Linked DNA regions of Homo sapiens: regions 2 and 3 are each linked to region 1. Evidence: promoter capture Hi-C in 16 types of primary human blood cells and fetal thymus (Javierre and others, 2016). All regions are on one chromosome and are shown on one strand. Each heading gives the region's core, a stretch centred on a gene start or on the middle of the fragment in contact. The rest is flanking DNA. Distances are from core to core; before and after follow the strand shown. Region 1 holds the start of PARD3 (par-3 family cell polarity regulator). Region 2 overlaps CUL2 (cullin 2). Region 3 overlaps LOC124902409 (a long non-coding RNA gene).

Region 1 (4,190 bases), core at 542-3,041:
AAATAAAGTAGTATACATTCTAAACTAGTAGTATACTCTCCCAATGCATGAAAACAGAAACAACACCTATAATTATCAGTAATTGTTGTTGTGGATCCAAGTATCTATGTAAGAAGCAAAAAACCCACATCAACAGTTGTTGTCATCGTTGTCACAAACTTAATTACTGGCTAGAAATGTCTAGTGCTGCAGCCAAACAGCAGTAGGAGGAGCCTTTCCCATGGCTGAGTGGAAGGAGGGAAACCTAGACTATTTCTGGGTCTGCCTTGAGCTTTCTCTGCCGCCTTGGGCAAGTGACTTTGGCCCTGGGTCAATGTCCTGGAGTAAGATGGGGCTAACACCACTGCACTGATTTGCTGGGACAGGTGGTGGAAAGTGGTGGTCCAGGGCTGGGAGAGGAGAGGAAGGGCAATGTTTCCTAGGAGAAACTGCACTATGCTGGGGCAGCTGCGGTGCTGCAAAGCGCAGGGAGTGTGGCAAGCGGACGAACCTCGTGTCTTGTTTCCTTGTTTTAAGATTGGAGGTGGAGTGGGATGGATGGTCGATCGCCAGCTCTTCCAGCTCTTAAGTGCTCAAGTTCTGCGCCAACCCAGGGGAGCTTGATTGCTTTCACGTGTCTTGGAAACAACTGGCAAAAAAGAATTTCACATAGTCTGGAAAGGGCTTGGGACAGGGACCACTCTTTGCAGACATTTGTCATTCTTTAAACATAATGACATACATTTATTAAGGACTCATAGTCCATAACTAAGACAAAATGAGCTTCAGTTACGTTCCCTAACTCGGTCCACGTTCCTTTAGAACGTCTCAAGCCCGCATGTCACTCATCGCGGAGTCGCAGCCTTCCCCTGGGTTCGGGCGTCTGCGTTAAGCGCCGGCACATCGTGGGGATCCCCGCGTGAGATTTCTCTGCGCCGTCGGAATAGACTGTTCACGGATTCGCGTTAGGATTCCTTATGCTGCAGAACTTCAAAGAAATAAATGTATCAGAATTGCGATGTTTAAGTTCTAATCTATTTAAGCGGGTGGGTCAGCAGAGGGTCAACAGGAAACTTCAAGGTAAATAGTGGCCTCTGGAAAAGGCCCGGTCGCTCACGGCTTCCCCACTGTCTCCCCAGAGCAGACTATTAATTCTTGCGTTTCAGGCAGAACTGCCGCTGCCGGCCCTGCAGCAGAGCTAGGGAGCGGGCAGGGCAGAAACCCAGCCGAGCAAGCTGCAGGCTCGAGTCCCCGCGGGCGGAGAGGCTCGGGCTGGAGCCTCCGGGGCGGTGAGGAGGGGACTCACCGCACTGAGCACAAACTGCTTTCCCCGGGAGCGCCTGCACCCAAAACCCTCCAGTTCGAGGAATGGGATTAAAAGTGACAAAGAAAGGGGAAGGGGGGCTCCGTGGAGACTTCTGGAGGCGTGGAAGGGGCGTCCCCGAGGAGGGGCGACGCAGCCCTGCAGGGTGCTGGGCGGGCGGGGTGAAGGGGGCTGGGGGGCGCCTGGGCCAGGGCTGGTGGGGGCAGACGGCCGCCTGCCCGTGCTGGCACTGGGGCGAGGGGTCCCGCGCCCCCGGAGGGAGGGAGGGAGGGAGGGAAGGAGGGAAGGAGGTCGGCCCCCGAGGGCGGTGGCGGGGGCGCGAGCTGCGGTCCTGCGCTCCGCCCCGCGCGGGTAGCCGGCCGCGCCTCCCCCTGCCGCATGTGCGCGGTGTTGTGTGCCCTGCCCTGCTCCTCCCCCTCCCCTCCCCTCCCCTCCCCTCCCCTCCCGCCGTCCCCTCCCCCAGCGGCCCCGAGCGAGCGCCAGCGCCACACAGCCCCGGGCAGCCGCCGGCGAGCGCGCCGCGACGCCGAACAGGTGGCCGGAGGCTGCGGGCGCCGCGGCGGGGAGAGGCGAGGCAAGCCCCGGGCGAAGCGAGGCGAGGCGAGGGCGGCCGGGCCGGGCATGCGAGCTGAGCGGCCCCCCGGCGTCGCCGCCGCCTGCCCGCGCCCCTAGCCGCCCGCGCGCCCGAGTCCCCAGCGGCTCCTCCGCGCCCAGCGTCCTCGGTCCCGGCCTCGGCTGCTCCGGCTGCGCTCGGCGAGGGGCGCGGGCCCGCCCGCGGCGGCGGCGGCATGAAAGTGACCGTGTGCTTCGGACGGACCCGGGTGGTCGTGCCGTGCGGGGACGGCCACATGAAAGTTTTCAGCCTCATCCAGCAGGCGGTGACCCGCTACCGGAAGGCCATCGCCAAGGTGAGGGGCCGGGGGCGCGGGCGGGGAGGGGGCGGCGGCGGGGACGGCGCCGGGATCAATATGGCGCTTCCTGGAAGGGGGAGGAGAGGCGCAGGGAGGCGGGGAAAGGGAAAGTGCGGCCGGTCGGGCCTCGCGGGCGCCCCCCGCCCCGGACTGCGGGCGCCAAAGTTCTCTGCGCGGGCCGGGGCGCAGCCTCTGGGACACCCAGCCGGGTCCCGCGGCCCCCGCCCTCACCCTCCGCCCGGGAGCTCCGGCCTCGGTAGCGCGGGGCGAGCCGGGCAGCGGCGCATAGGCCGGCCCTGGGCGCCTCCCCGGAGTCTGCAGACCCAGCCAAGCCCCGAGCCAGCGCGCGGGGGGCGCAGGCCGGGAAATCCAGCCCCAGGCCTTTCCCGGCTCCCAGGCCCCGGGGGCACAGGCCGGGGACTGGGAACTTTTGGTGTGAGGAGAGTTTCGTGACTGCCCTTCCGACAGAGGCGGGTTGCGAGCCTTCTGCCTCCTCTCCCTTACTCGGGCGGGGGCGGAACAGCGGCGGGGGGCTTTTCCTCCATGTCCCCTGCTGGTAGGGGCCGGCAGGGGCGGCCCGTCGCGTCCGGGGGCTGCAGGGTTTGGGGAGTCGCCGGCTTGGGGTCGGGGAGGCGTTCCCGGGAGGGCCACCGCTGGCACTTGGCACTCGCTTGCGAGCATTTACTGAGCTGATCCCACTTGCTGGGCTCTGGAAAGCACAACCTTGGAAGAGTCGCGGAATGAAAAGTTTTCCTGCGAGGACCTCAGCTCCTACCTATCCCGGGCTGGTTCCATGTGGCTGGGCTGCGGGGCCGGGCCTGACTTGGGAGTTGAGTGGATTTCCCTTTTTCCTGGTGGACTGATAACATTGTCTCCACTTCACAGCATTCCTCTACTGTGTGTCAGAAGTGAAAAGGCGTTTTGTTAAATTGTTTTACCGACTGTGTCTGTGTTTGACAACAGCCCACGCTGAAGTTTCTCCCAAGCACCCGGGGATATATTTCCTTTGTAGTAGAGTCCTCTTTGGTGGGGAGCGCATTCGTTTGGGTGCAGTATTTCCCATTTGTTCCCGACAGTGGCCTGGCCCCTGTGGGCTTGGGGGCTGCAAATGACGTTGGAAAGTGGCTTGGTCAGCCCTATTGAGCGTACACAGGGTACTCCGGTGGCATCTTCAGTTCTCTCAGAAATTAAGAAGTAAAAGCTTTTTAGACTTTTGTTTTGCTTTTAGTATATATTGGAAAAAATAGCATAAATTTGGCCTTTTAAAGATAATTTTGGGGGACGTTTGGAGACCCGACACAAGGATGGAAGACGTTGGCTTTAGTAGCTCTGTTATGTTCCTTACAGTTGAACTCTTTTATTGAAAATCAAATAAAATTAGTGGGAATTGGGCACCTGTTTATCTTGCAAAGCTGACAAAGGGAAAGAAAACCATCTAAATGGACATTTAGCATTTTTAAGTGTTGTTTATGTGTGACAGTTTATGCTTTAAATGTTCCAAAAGAGTACTCAAATTGTTCAGGCACTCTGGAAACCAACAAAACAAATTGTGCAAGGAAAGAGAAATAAAGTAATATGCACTCTGCAGTACGTCTAGGCTCCTGAATAGGAAGAGGGTGGTCAACATTTTCTTTCACTTTACTAATTTTATGTGATTAAAATTGTTTTACCTACTGTGTCCCATGTTTCATCCTGCACAAAATAGACATAGGCTGAACTGCCTGTTTGGCAGTAGTTCAAATGTAGTTGTTCCAGGCATTCGTTCCACAGAAATTCTGAAGCTTTGACTGTGTCCATGGCACTGTTCTGGGTGCTGGACATCTAAGGGACCCACTGGCTGTGAGAAGCTGAGCAAGAGGCTGCGGGGTCCTCCAGGTGAAGGAGCTGGTGATGACATGGGGAGAAGAGGTGGCCTCTGGGATGCTGGGTGGCTAGAGTGCAGGGCCTTGGTCACGGACCTGGTCCTTATTAACGAT
Region 2 (4,190 bases), core at 1,691-4,190, 210 kb before region 1:
AAGCAGGCAGATCTCTTGAGCTCAGGAGTTCCAGACCAGCCTGGCCAACATGTGAAAACCCGTCTCTACTAAAAATGCAAAAATTAGCCAGGTGTGGTGGTGCGTGCCTGTAATCCCAGTTACTGGGGAGGCAGAGGCAGGAGAATTGCTTGAACCCCAGAGGCGGAGGTTGCAGTGAGCGGAGATCGTGCCACTGCATTGAAGCCTGGGTGATGGAGTGAGACTCCATCTCAAAAAAAAAAAACAAAAAAAGGTCCTATTGGTTTGGAATGAAATGTGCCATGATAGAAATACTCAGATTTCATCAACATTTTGAGGAAGAAAAAAATGTTTTAGATGCTTAGATTATTTAATAAATATTTACTTTGAATTTAGATGTTGATCCATTTAGCTTATTTTATTTTATTTTTTTCCTTCTAGGCTGGTGCGTGGCCTCTTACTCAGGCTCCTTCATCTACGTTTGCAATTCCCCAGGAATTAGAAAAAAGTGTACAGATGGTAAGTTTGCAGGAAATATATTAGAAGACTAAAGGAATTTTAATAATTGTCTTCATATTATATCACCTTTAATATTTTTTCAGAGTCTTAAGGGTTCATGTGATAAAAATAGATTCAGAAATTATAGTCAGTCTGCCCTTTAGGAAGAATGTAAGTTATTGTAGTTACTAATATTGATACTAAAATGCTAAGAAGAATGTCATACAGTTCTTTGTCAAAGCATGTCTCTTATTCTGAGTAAGTCTATCATCTGCTATTAAGCAGTTTTAAATTATAAAAATGTTGATATCAGAAGAAAGCTTAGAATTCAACACCTAAAATATCACTTACCAGTTTTCCTTTTGAATTTTGACCAAATACCTCATTCAGCCCTTGTAATATTTTTATTTCTGTCCTGTAATGTAGGTAAATATATGTGAAGTAACTGCTAGTAGAGTAAGTAGTAACAGTGATTGATAGTGGTTATTAGTTTCGTGGTAATAACTAATAGAGGAGAGTCCTGTAACCAGTCAGGTAGGTTTCAGGAAGGCAAGCATGATAGACTTTCAGAATAGGAGGCTAAATTAGGACTTCTTACATCTTCTTTGAAAAGAGATTGTAGCACAGACTATTTTAGAAACTATGTGAAGAAGAGCATTTGTGCAGACATTCATTGGATGGGGCAGACTATAATCCAAGGTTATTACAAATTTTGCAGAAAGGATACATCCCAAAGTGCTGGGATTTCAGGCATGAGCCACCATGCCTGGCCTTGGCAGTCTTTTACATTTCTTTTTAAATATCATGTGTCCCTGATTGAAATTAAGGGAGAGAATAGGAGCTGGCAGAAATGAAGTTTTCCTTTAGTTTTTTCTTTCCTCTTTCCTTGAAATAATTATTTTCTATTTATAGTTTTTAACTCTTTAAACTTTATTTGTTGATGTATAGTCTTCCTCAGGTTTTAGTTTCCCCATTTACAAATAGGAAGTGAGTTTCTGTCTGTAAAATTCTGATTCCAAAAATACTATTCTCTCCATTTGAATTGTCTCCAATTACCAGTAGAGGGAGTTTGTCCTTTATTTTTTTTCTAGTAAGTCCAAGTTTTCAGATACATAGGATTGAAATCCATTTGTATACTTAATAGTGTACAGTTTTCTCATGTAAATTAATCCATCCTGCCTTAGTGATGATTTGCATTTTTTACATCTTAATCTTAAATATAACTATCAAGAATTACCTTTATTTTACACCAAAGTATCTCAAAACTGTGGAATTAAAGCTGTAATTAAAAGTAATTTATTTTATACTTTAGGCCAGTCAATCTTAATTGTTACATTTCTTTTTTACCTAGGCCAAAAACCTGAATAATATTAGAAGTATCTAAAGTTGCCGGGCGCGGTGGCTCACGCCTGTAATCCCAGCACCTTGGGAGGCCGAGGCGGGCGGATCATGAGGTCAGGAGATTGAGACCATCCTGGCTAACACAGTGAAACCCCGTCTCTACTAAAAATAGAAAAAATTAGCCGGGCATGGTGGCATGCACCTGTAGTCCCAGCTACTCTGGAGGCTGAGGCAAGAGAATCGGTTGAACCCAGGAGGTGGAGGTTGCAGTGAGCCGAGTTTGCGCCACTGCACTTTAGCCTGGGTGATAGAGCGAGACTCCGCCTCAAAAAAAAAAAAAAAAAAAGTATCTAAAGTAGTGTATATTAATGTAGCTATCTATTAAAGGTAAATAAACTCATTGAATTTTTAAGGCTCTTTGAGATCTAATTAATGCCCTTAAACAGTGTTTGAAAAATGCTGTTTTTTATCCTGTTTATTTTAAAATAAGTTTAGTCTGGGAGGAGGGGGGAGGGATAGCATTAGGAGATATACCTAATGCTAAATGACGAGTTAGTGGGTGCAGCACACCAGCATGGCACATGTATGCATATGTAACTAACCTGCACATTGTGCACATGTACCCTAAAACTTAAAGTATAATAATAATAAAATTTAAAAAAATAAAATAAGTTTAGTCAACATATATTTTTTACTAATAAGCTTTGCTAACACAATTATTTTAATGATATAATCAAGGAAGGTTTTATAACTTTGGTCTTTGTAGTGCCATATGAATTGATGAATTTATTGGAGTCTGTTTGTTCTTGACTAGCTATAGATACGAGAGTCTTTGTAGTCAGATTTTAAATGTAAGGATGAATCAGTATCTTCTTTTGGCATATTGATATTATCGTCAATAAAACTTTACCAAATAGTACTACTGAAGAGGTAAAACATGTTTTTAGAGCTTGGAATATACCTTTTAAAGCCAGCTTTGCACTTTAAATTATGAGCATTTTAAAGCTGGAATTTCTCATTTCCGAAAGTGTTTTGAGAAAAAAATGAAAGTTTTTTTAACTTTTATTTTGCTTTTGTCCAGATTCATTGTAAATGTGTTATAAATTGTGAATTATATAGTAGTGATTGAATTTTATTGATATCCCTGGGAGTTATTAGTTAGTCAGATCATACTTCTGAAATCCTCTTATGACATATTTCAATTTGCTGTTTGTCTGGATTAGAACTAAGCAGGCAATCTGAAGTATTCCAGGTGCTAGTCATCTCCTGTTCATCCTGCAAAGGGATTGGTGGATCTGCTGGTAGAGGAGGATGCTGCACCATTAGAGGGAAAATAGGCTCAACATATTTCAGCTTCCCAGGACTAGGCAAACTTAGAGTAACTGCTGAAGGAATTGACTCATTTTCTTGGCTGGAGCTATTAACTTTTGCTGTTAAGGAGTGGTCATAATATAGCTGATAGGTCAGTCATTGCTGACTGCTTTATGTGAACTTCCTTTTTAAAGTACAAAAGGTAAAGTTTGATATACAAATAAAAGCTTTAAGTATGTTATATATGGTACATCATGCTAAAAGTTTATTCAGAATTCTGAACTGGCATAATGCAGTTTATTTTTTAGTTTTATAAAGAAATTGAGTTTTTATCTTTTTCACATCCAGTATCATTTTTCCACTTTTTATTGTATACTAGCTCTTTATTAAAGAAAAAAGAACTCTGTATTTTTGTTCTGTAATTACACATTCAGTCCAGGGAGGAATGTTTAAAATTTGAAGGCTACATTAATAGAATTTAAATTTAATTGTTCACAATAATATCAGCAAAAGAATAATCCAGAGATATACCCTAAAACTTCGTATTTGTGTCTAATTGAATGTGGAAGCTATATGTTGGCAAATGGGAGATTAGAGATGAAGGTAGGGTTTCTCTTTTCATGGTGAAATATATATGTTGCTGTGTTTGGTTAGTAGAATTTATAAAGTCCATGTTAGTATTATTCAGAAATGATAATGAATCACTGTGTCATACAGAAAGTCAAATTTGCAGTGCTGTGGTTTAGTGGAGAGAACTCTAGAACAAGTTGTCAATTAAAAGAGCTGGAATATATGTGTATAGCCTTGATTAGGGACCACAGGAACGTGCTTTCTCCTCTGTAAAAGAAGGAGGTAAACCAGATGGGCTTTAATGTCTCTTCTAATATGAATGGTTTTCATTGCTTTTGTAGTATTGTGTTAATTAACTAGGCAAGTTATAGTAGCTAAAAATAATGTGTGTTTTTTTTTTTTTTTTACAGTTTGAATTATTTTATAGCCAACATTTCAGTGGAAGGAAACTTACATGGTTACATTATCTGTGTACAGGTAAAATGCATTTA
Region 3 (4,190 bases), core at 612-3,111, 180 kb before region 1:
TAGAATCAGACTCTATCTGCATTGTTTGTTTGTTTGTTTGTTTCCATTCTCTGGTTCTACTACTTCTCCACAGACCTTTTCCCTACCTAGTTCTCCTCATGCCTCATGCCCAGGACCACCCTTTGGTTCTAGTCTAGTTCTCGAGCAGCAGGAAAGACATGTAATTCCCCTGCTATATGGTAATTATTCATAATTTTTTCCCTGCAAGCCCAACATTCCTCCTTTGTGATAGTTTCTAACTCATTTTCTGCAGCAGTGCATACACTTCTGCTCCCTGAAGTCCTGCTGGAAGGACCACTTGTTAGAACCAGACAAATTGTTCACATGCTTACTGCTTAAGAGGCTCATGACTTGTCCCTAATGACTAGAAGCAAAGGAAGAAGCTGTTTTAAGGGGAGAGTCTGCTTTTGAATCCAGCCCCCACTTATGTTTTGGCTTAAATGAAATAGCTTCTTTCTTAATGCACATCAGAAATACCCAGGAAACCACCTCAGTTCTCTGGGTTAGAGTATAAATGTTCTAGGTGTTTCCTCTCTGAGCCAAATAAAAGGAATCCCCAGAATTCCTAGAGGAATTTGATATGTAAGAGTTAACACATGCTACCCTGCTTTTTCCAGATGAAAGAGGACGGAGGGCATCTTCCTCCCTGACACCAGGCTGGAATCGCTTGGGCGATTAGCAAGCAGGTTGCCAGCATCTATGCCACTGTGAATCAAAGGGTCTGGAAAAATCTGGACCAAGACACTTTCCGAGCACCACCCTTACCTCAGTGTCCAAGATTTCTCTATTCAAGATTCGCATGGGCTTAAGGTGTCAGAGTTCCTGGTCATTGTGCAAACTGGTTTTCTGGAAGGGCTCTCGTTTCTGAATGCCTCTGCTTTTTCCCCCAGAAGATGCAAGTCACCTTTCTGTCACCCTCAAGGGGCCAGGTCCCAAGTCCTGAGCTCCAGTTGGGAGGAGATAGTTTGAGGAGCTCTGAAAGAGGAAGGGTCAGCCTGGGAGACTGGGCAGAGGCCCTTAGTGTGGGGAAAAGGCGGGAGCGCTGGGAGGCAGCAGCATTTGGAATACAGACAGATTCCCCCGCCTGTGGCAATCTCTGTCTCCCTCTGGTGGTTTAAGCTCTCAAAATTACAGGTGTTCTTTGTAAGTGACTCATACATTCCAGTACCGGGGTGAGTTTTTACTCTTTTGGCTCATGTCATTTCCTCCCAGCAGCTAGGGTCTCTGCATTTTGTCCTGTTGTCATGGCAACTGGTACTCTGCAAGCTTTGGGAGCTGAAGCTGTAGAGCTGGCTCGTTAGGGAGGCTGCCCTCTCTCTCCAGCTCAATGGGGAACTGTAGACATTTGGAAGATGAATCATTCTAGTCCATTGAATAGCTTGCCAAGGTGACCCCGAGCAAGCTCCTTCCATCTCTTAACGAACAAAAACTATAGTGTTGTGAAGATTGTATGAGATAACTTATCTGAAGTTCCTAGCGCCATGCCTGACATACTATTTTAAGTGTTTGATAAATAATATTTGCCTTCCCATTGATTCAGACTCTACAGGCAGCAATAAAAAATTACTGCTCTAAATATTTCTCATTTTCTCTCTGCAGCCTTTCATGGAAGTTGCCATGGTTCTGCATCCCTAAACCAATGAGACACAATGGCAAGTTTCTCTTCCTACATCTATTTCAACCACCAGCTTAACTCCCCTTCCTGAGTGCAGCTAAAGCTGTGGCCATCAGGCAGGTGAAGCTTGGTGCCTCCTGTTCAACCAACAGGAATGACTGAAGCAGGCTGGGGGTGGGACCAGCAGTAAGAAGCCCAGAGCAATGACCAGAGCTCCCTTTCTCTGGAGAGCTGGGCTGGAGAAAATCTATGCACTGCTGATCTCCTAAGGAGAGAGCTTCAAGGGTGAAAAGATGGTGTCCCACAGGCCTGAGGCTGCACAGATCTAGCTTTTGCCATTGAGGACAGCAGGGACAGTAAAGCTTCCCAGATCCCCTTTCAACCTGCCAGCTGGCATGTCACCTACCATAGAGGAAGCCAATCCTAGACCTTGTACTACTTGAGAGATTGCAAAAGTATCCTGTTAGCTGGGTCTGGACCCCAATGATAAATAGACTCATGAGTGAGCTAAGGAAGGGAACTGGCCCATCTAAAAGGAACCGGCCCAAGGAAAAGCAGGAATCTATGAAGGCATTCAATAACTTGGACCAAAAAGGAACAAGAAGGTAAAATTGAATACTTGGGTGATGGTTACACTAAAAACCTAGATTTCCCCACTACAAGATATATCCATGTAACAAAACTGCACTTGTACCCCTTAAATTTATATACTTAAATAAAATAAAATAGAAGAGATTCTTTTTTTTTTTTTTTTTTTTTGAGATGGAATCTCACTCTGTTGCCCAGGCCTGGAGTGCAGTGGTGCGATCTTGGCTCACTGCAACCTCCTCCTCCCGGGTTCAAGCAATTCTCCCACCTCAGCCTCCCTAGTAGCCGAGACTACAGGCACTTGCCATCACGCCCAGCTAATTTTTGTATTTTTAGTAGAGATGATTTCACCATGTTGGCCAGGCTGGTCTCGAACTCCTGACCTCAAGTGATCCACCTCCCTCAGCCTCCCAAAGTGCTGGGATTACAGTTGTGAGCCACTGTGCCCAGCCAAAATAGAAGAGATTCTATTACAGCATAAAATACTTTGTGGAAATAAGAAACAAGGCCCGGCTCGGTAGGTCATGCCTGTAATCCCAGCACTTTGGGAGGCCCAGGTGGGCAGATCATGAGGTGAGGAGATCGAGACCATCCTGGCCAACATGGTGAAACCCCATTTCTACTAAAAGTACAAAAAATTAGCCGGGCGTGGTGGCACGTGCCTGTAGTCCCAGCTACTCAGGAGGCTGAGGCGGGAGAATCACTTGAACCCAGGAGGCGGAGGTTGCAGTGAGCCGAGATCGTGCCACTGCACTCCAGCCTGGGCGACAGAGCGAGACTGTCTCAAAAAAAAGAAAAAGAAAAAGAAATAAGAAACACGAGTTTTTCATTTTAAATTTCAGTTGATGACTGAAGAAGAGGATAGTTGCAGGCTAAATTAGTGGCCCAGGAGATTCAGTGAGAGAAAAATCTCAAAACATAAAACAAAATTACAAGCAGATGGAAATATTGAAGAAACTGACAAAGTATTTGAAGTCTGGATTCAGACAATCTTACATGTAAACAATAAAATGCCTAGAAAGGTTTTTTAAAAAGAAAAGTAGAAGAGAAGCTGTAATTAAACCAAACCAATAATAATAATAATAAATCATACGTACTAAAAAGAAATTGAGTATTCGAAGTGAAAGAATTCACCAAATTCCAATCTGGATTAATAAAACACTTAAGGAATATCCTGGTGAGCTGGGCGCGGTGGCTCATGCCTGTAATCCCAGCACTTTGGCCAGGCTAGTCTTGAACTCCTGACCTAAAGTGATCTGCCTGCCTCAGCCTCCCTCAGTGCTGGGATTACAGGCGTGAGCTACTGCGCTCAGCCTATATAACTGTTAAGGTAAAAGAAATATATTCAAAATTACACAAGATTTAGAAAATAAATCCTATACCTACTTCTGTTTGATGAAAATATTCCAGAAGAACTCTAATCAAATGATAAGTAATCAGAAAGAAGACCACAAGATTGCCGTGATGAGTAATGAGTGTGTGTGTGTGTGTGTGTGTGTGTGTGTGTGTGTGTGTGTGTTGCAATACTGGGTAAGGGAGCAGAAGGATAGTTACAGCATTCTTAAGATATTATCTTACAGGCCAAGTAATGGAGTGTCTTGGTGAACAGAAATATTTCATACTGTGCTTTTTTCTTTTCACAGGTAATGGTAGAGAAATATTTGTTTATGTGTATCCAGTATAGAATGGAATCATTACTGATATGGAAAATTACATAAGAACTTTGCATTTTTCAGGTCTGTTAAGGAATGACAGAATGACACACCCATTCCTTGCTCCATCCCCACTTCCAATTTCCACATCCATACACTGGAAATTCTTGATTTCTTTAGCCAAGGACACAGCTTAATAAATTAAAGATATCATGCAGGACTAAAAAATATGTGTTTTTTGGTGCTGATAGAATCTTGCCTGATTTGAGAGGTTTAATTCTAGGGTGTTTAACAGACCTTTATTTTTTAGAACTTGCATTCTGTTCAGGAAAAAT

What was found. Contacts are between HindIII fragments. The CHiCAGO score rates a contact against its expected background, and 5 or more counts as called.
Region 2: a contact is called between a fragment that was not itself captured here and the fragment with the promoter of PARD3 in region 1, in 1 of 17 cell types (megakaryocytes). The highest score is 5.4, in megakaryocytes.
Region 3: a fragment that was not itself captured here is called in contact with the fragment with the promoter of PARD3 in region 1 in 1 of 17 cell types (fetal thymus); the score reaches 5.6 in fetal thymus.

Annotation. Positions count from the first base shown.
Region 1 is chr10:34,812,897-34,817,086 of GRCh38, reverse strand. PARD3 (par-3 family cell polarity regulator) reads left to right here and starts at 1,791. Exons shown (of 25, transcript NM_001184785.2): 1 at 1,791-2,211. The coding sequence starts at 2,092. It overlaps PARD3-DT (PARD3 divergent transcript), which reads right to left and starts at 1,319. Exons shown (of 2, transcript NR_108043.1): 1 at 1,286-1,319; 2 at 665-967. RefSeq lists silencers at 1,443-1,492, 1,583-1,752, 2,273-2,552. The HindIII fragment of the contact is 5,100 bases long and covers 1-3,417 here.
Region 2 is chr10:35,025,118-35,029,307 of GRCh38, reverse strand. It overlaps CUL2 (cullin 2), which reads left to right. Exons shown (of 21, transcript NM_003591.4): 16 at 421-498; 17 at 4,110-4,176. Among named protein-coding and RNA genes, the nearest start is that of MIR3611, 52 kb to the left of the region's middle. The HindIII fragment of the contact is 836 bases long and covers 2,523-3,358 here.
Region 3 is chr10:34,991,772-34,995,961 of GRCh38, reverse strand. It overlaps LOC124902409 (a long non-coding RNA gene), which reads left to right. Exons shown (of 2, transcript XR_007062110.1): 2 at 1,600-2,350. Among named protein-coding and RNA genes, the nearest start is that of LINC02635, 21 kb to the right of the region's middle. The HindIII fragment of the contact is 236 bases long and covers 1,744-1,979 here.